Regions from separate parts of the Homo sapiens genome. Here region 2 is linked to region 1. The links are contacts of gene promoters, found by promoter capture Hi-C in blood cells and fetal thymus (Javierre and others, 2016). All regions are on one chromosome and are shown on one strand. Each heading gives the region's core, a stretch centred on a gene start or on the middle of the fragment in contact. The rest is flanking DNA. Distances are from core to core; before and after follow the strand shown.

Evidence for each region. The method cuts DNA at HindIII sites, captures the fragments that hold promoters and counts their contacts. A CHiCAGO score of 5 or more calls a contact.
Region 2: a contact is called between a fragment that was not itself captured here and the fragment with the promoter of TBXT in region 1, in 1 of 17 cell types (monocytes). The highest score is 5.7, in monocytes.

The regions. Positions count from the first base shown.
Region 1 is chr6:166,165,965-166,171,273 of GRCh38, forward strand. It overlaps TBXT (T-box transcription factor T), which reads right to left and starts at 1,887. Exons shown (of 8, transcript NM_001366285.2): 1 at 1,422-1,887; 2 at 628-892. The coding sequence starts at 1,627. LNCDAT (lncRNA divergent activator of TBXT) reads left to right here and starts at 2,133. Exons shown (of 2, transcript NR_166068.1): 1 at 2,133-2,186; 2 at 4,108-5,208. RefSeq lists an enhancer at 2,029-2,623. The HindIII fragment of the contact is 11,647 bases long and covers 1,233-5,309 here.
Region 2 is chr6:166,420,342-166,426,230 of GRCh38, forward strand. It overlaps RPS6KA2 (ribosomal protein S6 kinase A2), which reads right to left. Exons shown (of 21, transcript NM_021135.6): 17 at 2,915-3,076. It overlaps LOC124901460 (a long non-coding RNA gene), which reads left to right. Exons shown (of 2, transcript XR_007059866.1): 2 at 1,300-1,412. Among named protein-coding and RNA genes, the nearest start is that of MPC1-DT, 40 kb to the left of the region's middle. The HindIII fragment of the contact is 2,193 bases long and covers 204-2,396 here.

The DNA of each region.
Region 1 (5,309 bases), core at 637-3,136:
GTGGGGTTCCACCAGGGGAGGCTTCTCCGCGGTTTATATGTGCTATTCCCACAGCTTGTTTGGAAAAGGGATGTGAGATGCTACACACCATTAAAAGCAATGAATGCTCATCACAAAATCCTTTCACCTGGTGGAATAAAGTACTAAGGCTTTCAGGAAGGCTATGGTCATTTTTAAAAGACTGAGCTTGTTTGCAACTTGCCTAACCTGGGGTCTTCCAGGAACAATCCCCGACTAAAGAATGTTCTTTAGAAAAGCACGACTTTACAAGTTTGTTCCGACTCCACGCAGTAAGTACTGTGGCGCATGTTTAAATTTAAATGCGACTTTGCCATCAAGGCTGATATCTTTTCCACCCCCAGGAGAGTTTAGGGCTAGACAACGGAAGTTCCCCAAAAGCTCCAGTCCTTCAAAGGGGAGTGCTCCCGCTCCCCGTTCGCCAGGCGTGGATGTTATCAGCTTAGTATAAACAGCGCTAAAGGCCTTATTAGAGAAGGCTGTGGCAGTTTCTCCAGGGCAGACGTCGCCTCCCGTTCAAGCAGCGTCCCTTCCCACAACCCCCGTGCAGAAGGCGCAGCGCGGCCCCCTCCTCGCTGGTCCCAGACCTGGCGGGCTCCTCACACCTACCTGGCCCCCTCCGTTGAGCTTGTTGGTGAGCTTGACTTTGCTGAAGGAGACGGGAGCCTTCATCCAGTGGGCCCCGAAGTTGGGCGAGTCGGGGTGGATGTAGACGCAGCTGGGCGCCTGCGGCTCCGGCTTGCCCCCCGGCACCCATTCCCCGTTCACGTACTTCCAGCGGTGGTTGTCCGCCGCCACGAAGTCCAGCAGGAAGGAGTACATGGCGTTGGGGTCCAGGCCAGACACGTTCACCTTCAGCACCGGAAACATCCTCCTGGAAAACACGGGGCGGGCGCAGGAGGACCCCGACACTGACCAGGTAGGCCGGAGGCAGAAGCTGGGCACAGAGGCCTCAGTTATTTCGGGGCACAGAGGAGCCCCCTGGGGAACGTCCGAGGGTGACTCCCAAGCTCCCCCTTCCCCGAGCCCTGCCAGGTCCAGGTGGCCTCCTCACCATCTCCACGGCCTCGGGAGGGAGGGGAGGAGAGGACCTGGCGAAGGGTTTCAGTGCAGGAGGCCACATCCCGCGGGGACAGGCGGGGACCAGGGCGCGCCTCGCGGGTCCCGGGATGCCTCCGAGGTCGGGACACCGAAGTGCGCGTTCCTCCTCCCCAAGCTTCCGCGGAGAAAGCCCCAGAAGAGGGGCTTGTAGAAATGCACTCGAGGGAGTTAACCAGAGCGGGAACAAACACAAAGCCCTCCTCCAGGAGAAAAAGGGTTCGACCTCCGGGAACTTGCCAGGTCCCCCAGGCTGCCCAGGCGCTGGAGAGCGCGGCGCGCGCGGGCTCCGGACGCGCACCCACCTGCCGTTCTTGGTCACGATCATCTCATTGGTGAGCTCCTTGAAGCGCAGCCACAGCTCGCTCTCCTCCAGGCCCACGCGCAGTTCGCGCTCTGTGGGGTCGCCCTTCTCGCTGCCCGCCTGCAGCTCATTCTCCACGGCGCTCAGCAGGTGGTCCACTCGGTACTGCAGGCTCTTTCCCGCGCTCTCGGTGCCAGGGGAGCTCATCCTCCCGTCCGGCTCCCCTCCCCGCCGTCCCCGAAGCCCAGACTCGCTACCTGAGATCCACCTTCCCTGCTCTTGGCCGCCGCCCTTCCGAGAAAAGGGGCCCCTTGGACCGAGACCTGCGACGGCTCCCGGGTCCCGGGTCCCGGCACAGACCCGGGAGGAGGGCGCGGACCAAGACTTGGGGGGAGGGGACGGGGGCAGAGGGGTGGGGAGAAGTTATTCCACTTGAACTCCCCAAGGCTCTACTAGTGTAGGTCTCTGGGGACCGAAATTCAGTGCCCTCCCCATAAATAGAGCCGCGGCGGCAGCGCTGGGGTGCTCGGCGGATTGGGCCGCGCACGCTTTGAAGTGCCGGGCAGCCTCCCATTGGCCGAGAGCGGCCATATCAGACCCAGCCGGGCGGGTCTGGGAGGCCGGGGGCCAACAATGGGCTCCCGCACGCCTGTTTCATGTAAATCCGGGGCCCCAGCCCTGCGAGCCCCGGCCCAGCCCCTACACCCCCGCCCTTCTCCAAATGTTTGCACCTCCATCAAAGCGGCGGGGCAAGCCCCGGAGGAAGGTAAGCTGGACGCCCCGGCCTGCCCCAGCCCGCCCCAGCCCGCCCCAGCCCGCACTTCCGCGAGGGGCTGCCCGGCAGCCTGCGATGCTCCCTGATTCCCGCGCGGGGTCCTCCTCGCTTTCCCAGCGCGCCCGGATCCCGCAGCCGCGCCAGGCTGGAACGTTCGCGCGGCCTCACCTGTCCCCGCTCCAGGCGCGCCTCCCTCCCCTCCCAGGGACGAGCGCATTTGGCCGGGCTTTGGGATGCGCCGCGCTCGTCTCGCCGCAGTAGTAGTGCTGTTCTCGCGCCTCCGATGCCTCAACTCTCCAGTCTGGCAGTTTCCGGTGCACCTGTCCCCACACGTCCCTCGCCCACGGAGCCCCAGGCGGCGTTACGCACACCCAGGATCGTGGATCAGCCTGCCCCGGCGTCGGGTGTCCCCGCGGCTCTCACCATCTGGAAAAGGAAGGTCCGCGCGCAGAGAGGGAAATGGACGGAAATAAGCAAAAGCAAAACAACCCCTTCTGAGAAGTGTCCTCCTCGCTCTCTTATAAAAACAGGACTTGTTGCCGAGGTCAGCGCGCGCATCGAGTGTGCCAGGCGTGTGCGTGGTTTCTGCTGTGTCATTGCTTTCACGGAAGGTGGGAGAAGGTCGGGGCTGGCGGGGTGGTCCGGACTAGTGGGACTCGGGGCGCTTTCCCCGCCCGGCCCAGCGCCAAGCGGTGTCGGCAGCGGTTGTTTTATTACCTTTCGGTGAGAACTTACGCGAGGAGAGCGAAGGAGAGGTGACAATGAGCAGGAAATAGTTCAGTGGGGTCTCTTTAAACAGTAACATTCCTCCTAAAACGGGAGCCCAGGAAGGGGGAAGGAGGCAGAAGCTCCCCCTTCCAAGGCCTGGCTTTGCGCTTCTGCACACCTCGCCCATTCGCTGGACGAGGGCCTGCCTCGGGTAGCAGCCTCTGTTTCCCGGTCTCCTGAGCGGGCACCCCAGCCCCAACCCCTCTAGAGAAAGCCTGCGCATCGGGTGGGGCAGCGAGTTCAGAGGAGTCTTGCGCCCTAGCAAGGGGGCTTTCCCGCGGACATGGTATCTGCGCCCCGCGCTAAGTCTCCCCTGCCCCCTGCCCCCTGCCCCTCGCCCCTCGCCCAGCCGGGCTCGCTCCGGGGTCGGGAATTGCTGGGGAAGCCGAAGGAGGGATCCCCGCCCGGGACTCGAGGGATCGACCCGCCTCGCGGTATGCGGAGGGCTGCCAGGAGCCAGTCCCGGGGAAGGGTGCCTGCCGCCCGTGGGGGACAGGGCTCCTTCTCTCCCTTCTCCAACTTACACCGACGAGTCAGGAAGCCGGAGCGTCTAGTCCCTGTCCGCATTTCTCAGTGTCTTTTGATGTCTGGGATGCATGGATATTCCCAGGGGGCTGACCCGAGGTGGGGAAGTTTCCTTCTAGAAAGAGGCACCAAAAGGACCTCATTTGCTCCTGACGCCGGACCCTCCTGACACGCCTTCACTGGCTCATCGGGTCCTGGGCTTTGGGGGAGAGCGTGGTGCGTGTTACTCTCCTTACTCCGGGTATTAAAATGTCTAAGAGGTCATCGCTTTGGCCCAAGGCCTCCCGAGGATAAGATAAAAGGGAAAAGTGGAGGGGAGGTGAAGGAGGAACGAGGGTGGGTCCCAGGCAATTGAGGGCCTCGGAACCCTAGGCACGGGAGCGAAACCTCTCCTGCGGCTTCAGGGCAAAGGAGTCCCGAAGGCTGGATCCCTCCCCTGCGCTCGGACGGCGTCGCGGCCGCTTTTCCCACAGTCGGGAAGCGCCAAAGAAGACTGGAGGGTTTAACAGATCGCTCTAAAACTGTTCCGAACAGGAGGGGCACGGCCAAATAAGAATACAACTTCAGCAGGAAAGAATATTCCGTTTCTAACACGCGTAATAAAATTTCTACTCTCCAGAGAGAATGTCTGAAGCATTGAAGAGTACGACCCAGGAATTGAACCACCCAAGTCGGAGGAGGTAGAGGTTGGAAGTCACCGACTTTGGCCAGCACTTGTGTAGTGTCACCTGTCTTCACTTTCTAACGTTTATTTTTCCTCCCCTTTCTGTGGCTGATTTTCTGATCTTTGTTCCTCGGTTCCCAGGACCAGGCCCACTCCCTCCGCCTTTTCAGCGAAGGCTGCAGTGCATGACAGTTTACAGCCAAAACTTCCTCCAGCCCGGCTATAAAGAATTCCCAGTTAATAACAATGCGCTTCCTTGGGAGGAAAGAGGGGCTGAGGCACCGCCAGCTGTTTCGCTCCCAGGGTCTATCTCTCCTTGGCAAGCCCAGCCATTCAGAGAAAAACAAGACAAAGCCTTATGGCTGGGCCTCAGGATGCAACTGTCCCACCGAAAACATGCTTGAAACATTTTATAAGAAAACACACACACACACCCCACTCGACTCCCAGAGAGGCAGTTTTCCTGGGCCCAATCCCTTCTGAAAAAGCAAAGCCATTTATCTTTAGAAGCAGGCAACAATGAAGCTGTAACAGGCTCAAGGAGGGGTGGAGGACAGCCTCGCGTGACTCTTACCCCACACTCTAGTCCCTCTCTTTCTGCAAGAAAAACAAATGAATTTCTTTTCTGATTATATATGTACTCCTTGTAGAAATATTATATATGTATCTGTCTTCATATATATGTAAAACAGTCACCCACAGTATCTGTGGGGGATTGGTTCCAGGACCTACAAAGATGGCAGAATCCAGGGATGCCCTAGTCCCTTGGCATGGTATTTGCATATAACCTATGGACTTCCTCCATGAACTATAAATCACTTCTGGATTACTTATAATACCTAATACAATGTAACACTATGCAAATAGTAGTTATACTGTATTGCTTTTTATTTGTATAATTTTTATTCTTTCATTATTGGGGAGAGGGAGTTTGGAATGTTTTCTATCAATTCAACCAACCACGGATATGGAACCTGTGGCTATGGAGGGCTGGCTGTATGTTTATCTCTCTCTATGTATATAAATGCTAACCTCAAGCACTAAGCAATGTTCATATTTTGGGGTGTTCCTCGTCTTTTTTTCATTTTGTTCTTCTCATGAGCTCCTTCTCCCACACTGACTAAGCGGACTGATCGCAAACAGTCACAAGTTCTACA
Region 2 (5,889 bases), core at 50-2,549, 250 kb after region 1:
ACCATCCATCCACAGAGCATTTCACCTTCCCAAACTGAAACTCTGTCCCCATTAAACAACAACTCCCTGTCCCCCAGCCCCCAACACCTACCCTTCTACTGTCCGTCTGTGTGAATCTGACTCCTCCAGGGACCTCATAGGAGTGGAATTATGCAATGTTTGTCTTTCTGTGACTGGCCCATTTCACTTAGTATAACACCCTAAGCTTCCTCCAGGGGTCAGAAGTTCCTTCCTTCTGCAGGCTGGACAATGTTCCGCTGTGTGTGCATGCCACGTTTTGCTTACCCATTCATCCACCGAGGGACACTCTCGTGGCTTCCACCTTTTGGCTGTTGTGAATAGTGCTGCTATGAACATGGGTGGACACATGTCTCTTTGCGTCCCTGCCTTCAATTCTTTTGGGTATATACCCAGAAGTTCCATTCTGGGCTACGTGATAACATTTAATTTTTTTGAAGAACTGTTAAAGCAGCAAAACTTGTATGCATCCTAGGATTACATACTTCAGTAGAGGGCAATCCTCTGATATAGTTACAGTTGAATAACAACAAAGGAAGCCACAATGGTGCTCATGGATTACTGCAGATGACTGGATTTAGCATTAAATATCGAGTCGGGAGAGCTCGGCTCAATTTCCTTAGAGATGAGAGCAAGGAGCCTGTCCTTTTCTCTGTATCGCTGCTACCATGTGTGAGCCTGCACCATGGAGGGGACCAGCCAGCGCATGCTGAATGAATGTGGTGCTCATGGTGCAAGCCTCACTTCCTAATCCATCAGCGGGGTGACCTTCAGAAGTCACTTACACACATGGAGCTTGTGCTTTCTGACTCTGTGAAACATGGTTAATAGATTTTACCCTGCCTACTTTGTATGGTGGATGAGAGTGAAAGTAAAAAAAGTTGGTAAAAGTGCTTTGTAAATGGCAAAGGAATATCACAACCTAGGGCATTCTACAATCAATAAAATCAATATTGTGGGAGACCAGAATATGCCACCCCAAAATATGCTGCATAGGCGTGAGGGGCGCTGAGCTGAAGATACATAAGAAGCAGCAGATGCAGGAGAGCTCTGTGTCCTCCATTTGTCTAAAATCAGGACATGGATTAAGACAAAAGGTACCTACCCCCAACCAGAGAGGACAAAGGCTTCCCCTAGGGACAGCTTTGGATGCATGTGGTCCCACCTGGGACCAGCCTCCATAGGCCAGCCCTGCACCTCCCCAAGCTGCAGCCCCTGGAGACCCTAACCCTCTTCCTTTGTCTTGCCAGGTCTCTAAAAATTCTCTGTTCTTTGTTGCAGATACCATGTAGGCTGGATTCAAAGCCACCTCTGTGAGGATGACTCCTTCTCTGGGCATCTCGCATGCATAAATGAGAAGATGTGTGTTAATAAACTTCTTTTTCTCTTGTTAATCTGTCTTTTGTTACAGGGGTCTGGTCCAGCTAAGAACTTATGAGGGATGAGGAAAACGTCATTTTCCTCCCCCATAATATTATCAATATTAATATTGATTAAGTAAGGCATGAACAGAGGCTTATAACCTGGTTACTTTCATTTTTTTTAGTTTTTATTTTTTGAGACGGAGTCCTGCTCTTTCAACCAGGCTGGAGTGCAGTGGCGTGATCTCGGCTCACTGCAACCTCCACTTCCCGGGTTCAAGCGATTCTCCTGCCTCAGCCTCCTGAGTAGCTGGGACTGTGGGCACACACCACCACACCTGGCTAATTTTTGTATTTTTAGTAGAGACGGGGTTTCACCATGTTGGCCAGGCTGGTCTCCAACTCCTGACCTCAGGTGATCCACCTGCCTCGGCCTCCCAAAGTGCTGGGATTACAGGCGTGAGCCACCGCACCCAGCCAAACTTGGTTATTTTTAAAGGGGCCACAGGTTGCTCAAGTGTCTGGATGACCCCTGCATAACCTAAAACAGCCTCTCAGTCCAGCCCCTGGCTGCACATCCGTTCACGTCTCAGCACGCAGAAGCATCTTTGCAATGGACCAGTGGCCCTGGGTGACCTCTTAAACAACTCCAAGACCCACAGTGAGATGCCAGGCGCCTCAGACCTGGCTGCTCGCTTGACTCCCCTCCCATCGGAGCAGCTCTGGTCCAGTTCCATCAAGAACCCACGGGATCCACACAGACTCTGAAGTCCGCCTTCCTTCCCAGTTCCCTCCTCCCCTGTCCCATTGGCAACATCAGCCACAGCCCTTCCCTTCCTCTCTTTACCACTGGCTTTTCTCAAAGGCAAGAAATTGGGCTTAGATTTATAAACACATCCTTGAATTCAGAACCTAATGGAACTTGTTCCCGGGAAATGTGAAAAGAGAGAAGTTCACCAGGTGCCTGCTAGCTGCTCCGAGCGGGGCTGGGAGCAGACACAGACACTGAACAACGTAAGCTTTCAGTGGCAAATCACCCCGGAGCCCTGCGGTTCTCAATCTGACAGCTGCTGACTTGCTGCTGTCGGGGAACCAATCTGGAGTGAGAATTGGGGTGCAGAGAAAATCCGTAAACTTAGTTGCTCCCTGCGCTATGACGGATCCATTTCCCATCCCAGGTGAACCGCAGCTCTGCGTCCTGGTTGTATAAGGAGACTACTGCATCATCTCTCTAACTTGGAATAAATATGCAGATTTCATCCAAATTGTCTACAGAAGACAATTTTACATAAAAATGTTACTGTTGAAAAGTTTTTTCAAATGGGAAAATGAGAATGATAAGAACAACTACGTTTAAGCAAGATTGGCCCCTGGCTCAAGAGACTGAAGGTTCTCGTTTCTGTTTCCCAACACCACTGCTGACGCAGCTCAAGCCGCCTCTGACATCCCCGCTGTCCGGTGGCTCTGCAGTGGGAGGGGGCAGAGCCTGTCTTTGCGGATAGAGAGGCCTGGGTCTGCAGTCGGGGAATGCTCACCTCCGGGGCCACGAAATTGGCCGTGTAGCAGGGTGTCATGAGCAGCCCGTTCCCCGCGCGCAGCTGCTTGGCAAAGCCGAAGTCGCAGACTCGGATGGATTCTGGGCTCCCCGACTCATCCCTGTACAGGATGTTACTCGGCTTCAGGTCTCGATGAACAACCTGCAAGACAGAAGGCACAGTGCCTACTTGGGGGCTGAGGACTGAGCAGGAGAGGGAGGGCAGGTGCATTTGGAGGGGAGGGTGCATTTGGGAACTGTCTTCCTAGCAGGTCCTGCAAGCAGGCAACAGGCCAACAGTGTCAACAGCTGCTGTCTTCTCCAGAGGGCCCCCCACCTTCTCCCATTCTCCTGTGGTGGTCACTCACTTCTGAGCTCCTGGTGTCACCTGCTTTTACAGTGAATGAATATTTGAGTAAATAAGTGAGCACCTCTCCAAGTTGAGGCCGCAGCTTACTGGAGCTGTCACATAAAAGGAAATGTGGTGAGCTCTGGAGATAGGAATGAAAAGCATTTTAAAGATGATATTCATTCAATAACTACTCCCTGTGTGCCCACCCCCATGCACTGTGAGGTGTTGGAGCAGCACCAGTGAGCAGCACAGATCAGGCACCTGCTGTCCTGGGTGCAGCAACTCGTTGGGGAGACGGACCAGGGCCACGCGATCATGCAGTCACTCTGCAATCATGCTCTGAGGCCTCCCATGGAGGACTGCGCTGGCTGCAATGATGGTGGGGCCAGCACACCTCAAAGCAAAGCAGCTATTTAGGGCACAAAGCAATGTGTTCTGAGGGGACAGAGGGCCATTGTGAGGACGTGTGGCGTGCCTTTGTACAGCTTGGATCCTGAACATCTCAATTGTCCTAATGAAATCCAGTGGGAGGATGTAGAAGGGAATTAAAGGGACACACTCCAGCAGTCAGGCCTGGTTTACAGAGGTCCTGATGGCAAGGCAATCAAAGACTGTGGCTTTACTTCCATTACCTCCCCTCATTAAATACAAGCAGATCTGCAGAAAACATCATCCAAAGGGCTTCCCCTGAGTTTGACTGTACTGGGAAAACCTGGAAGTAAGTGCTTAATGCTCAAGACTGGGTGACCACACAGAAAAGACCCCAGTGTGTGGTCCTGGAAGAATATTCCCGTTTGGAGATGACTGCATTCTGAAAACTCAGGACTACGCACACAGCTGGCTAAGACAGTATTTCCTGCTTCAGGAGAAACACTGGGAAGAGATGGCGCACAGAGGAAACATGTGATACGGTGCAGCTGCCTCCCTGTGAGGCCAGGGCTGGGACCAAGAGCACTGCCTGGAACCAGAGAGTGGGAGTCCAACCCCACTGGCCACCTACTCATGTGTGACCTTGGCCAAGATACTCAAACTCCTGTGCCCCTCGCCTGCACAGTGGGTGTGATCTAGGGTTAGGGAGTCAGTGAATGAAGAGCTTGAAGTGCAGCCTGGATCACGGTGAGGCCCACGTGAACCTCAGGCATCACCGTCATCCCTGCCTCAGCGTCCCTGCGCTCCGGTTAATGAATTCTTTACCCGTTGCAAGTAACGAAAATTCTTAATTTCTTTTGATTAAGGCCAAAGTATTTTTTTGGCTAAAGTTGGTAAAAATGATTTTAGACCCTCAAAGGGTAGCAGAGTCAGCCACCCCAAAATATGCTGCTTTGGCATAAGGATTATTTGGAGCTGAAAACAACTGAAAAGATGCAGATATAAGCAAAGCTCTCTGCCCTCCCCTTCTTTACCTAAAAGGAGGATATAAATGGGTAAAGGTGTCCCTCCTGTCCTCTCTGCCTGGAAGGATGGAAGGGAAACTCCTCTAGATGCTTACAGCCTGGAGAAGCTTCCAGAATAATCTCTATAACAAATGTTCCTAACTAGCCCTCATCTTCTGTTAGTTTCCCATAGACTTAGCTTCCCACAGTCTGCTGCCTTAGAAACACAGTCCTTTTTCTTTGTCTTCTTTAAAAATTATTATTCTTTTTAAAATTTAAAAAATTTTAAAATTTGAGCTCTTTTAGGGCTCCTGAAGGAAGCACTAAACATGGAAAGGAACAACAGGTACCAGCCACTGCAAAATAATGCCAAAATGTAAAGACCATCGAGACTAGGAAGAAACCGCATCAACTAATGAGCAAAATAACCAGCTAACATCGTAATGACAGGATCAAATTCACACATAACAATATTACCTTTAAATGTAAATGGACTAAATGCTCCAATTAAAAGACACAGACTGGCAAATTGGATAGAGTGTCAAGACCCATCAGTGTGCTGTATTCAGGAAACGCATCTCACGTGCAGAGACACACATAGGCTCAAAATAAAAGGATGGAGGAAGATCTACCAAGCAAATGGAAAACAAAAAAAAGGCAGGGGTTGCAATCCTAGTCTCTGATAAAACAGACTTTAAACCAACAAAGATCAAAAGAGACAAAGAAGGCCATTACATAATGGTAAAGGGATCAATTCAACAAGAAGAGCTAACTATCCTAAATATATATGCACCCAATACAGGAGCACCCAGATTCATAAAGCAAGTCCTGAATCACCTACAAAGAGACTTAGACTCCCACACAATAATAATGGGAGACTTTAACACCCCACTGTCAACATTAGACAGATCAACGAGACAGAAAGTTAACAGGGATACCCAGGAATTGAACTCAGCTCTGCACCAAGCAGACCTAATAGACATCTACAGAACTCTCCACCCCAAATCAACAGAATATACATTTTTTTCAGCACCACACCACACCTATTCCAAAATTGACCACATAGTTGGAAGTAAAGCTCTCCTCAGCAAATGTAAAAGAAGAGAAATTATAACAAACTATCTCTCAGACCACAGTGCAATCAAACTAGAACTCAGGATTAAGAAACTCACTCAAAACCTCTCAACTACATGGAAACTGAACAACCTGCTCCTGAATGACTACTGGGTACATAACGAAATGAAGGCAGAA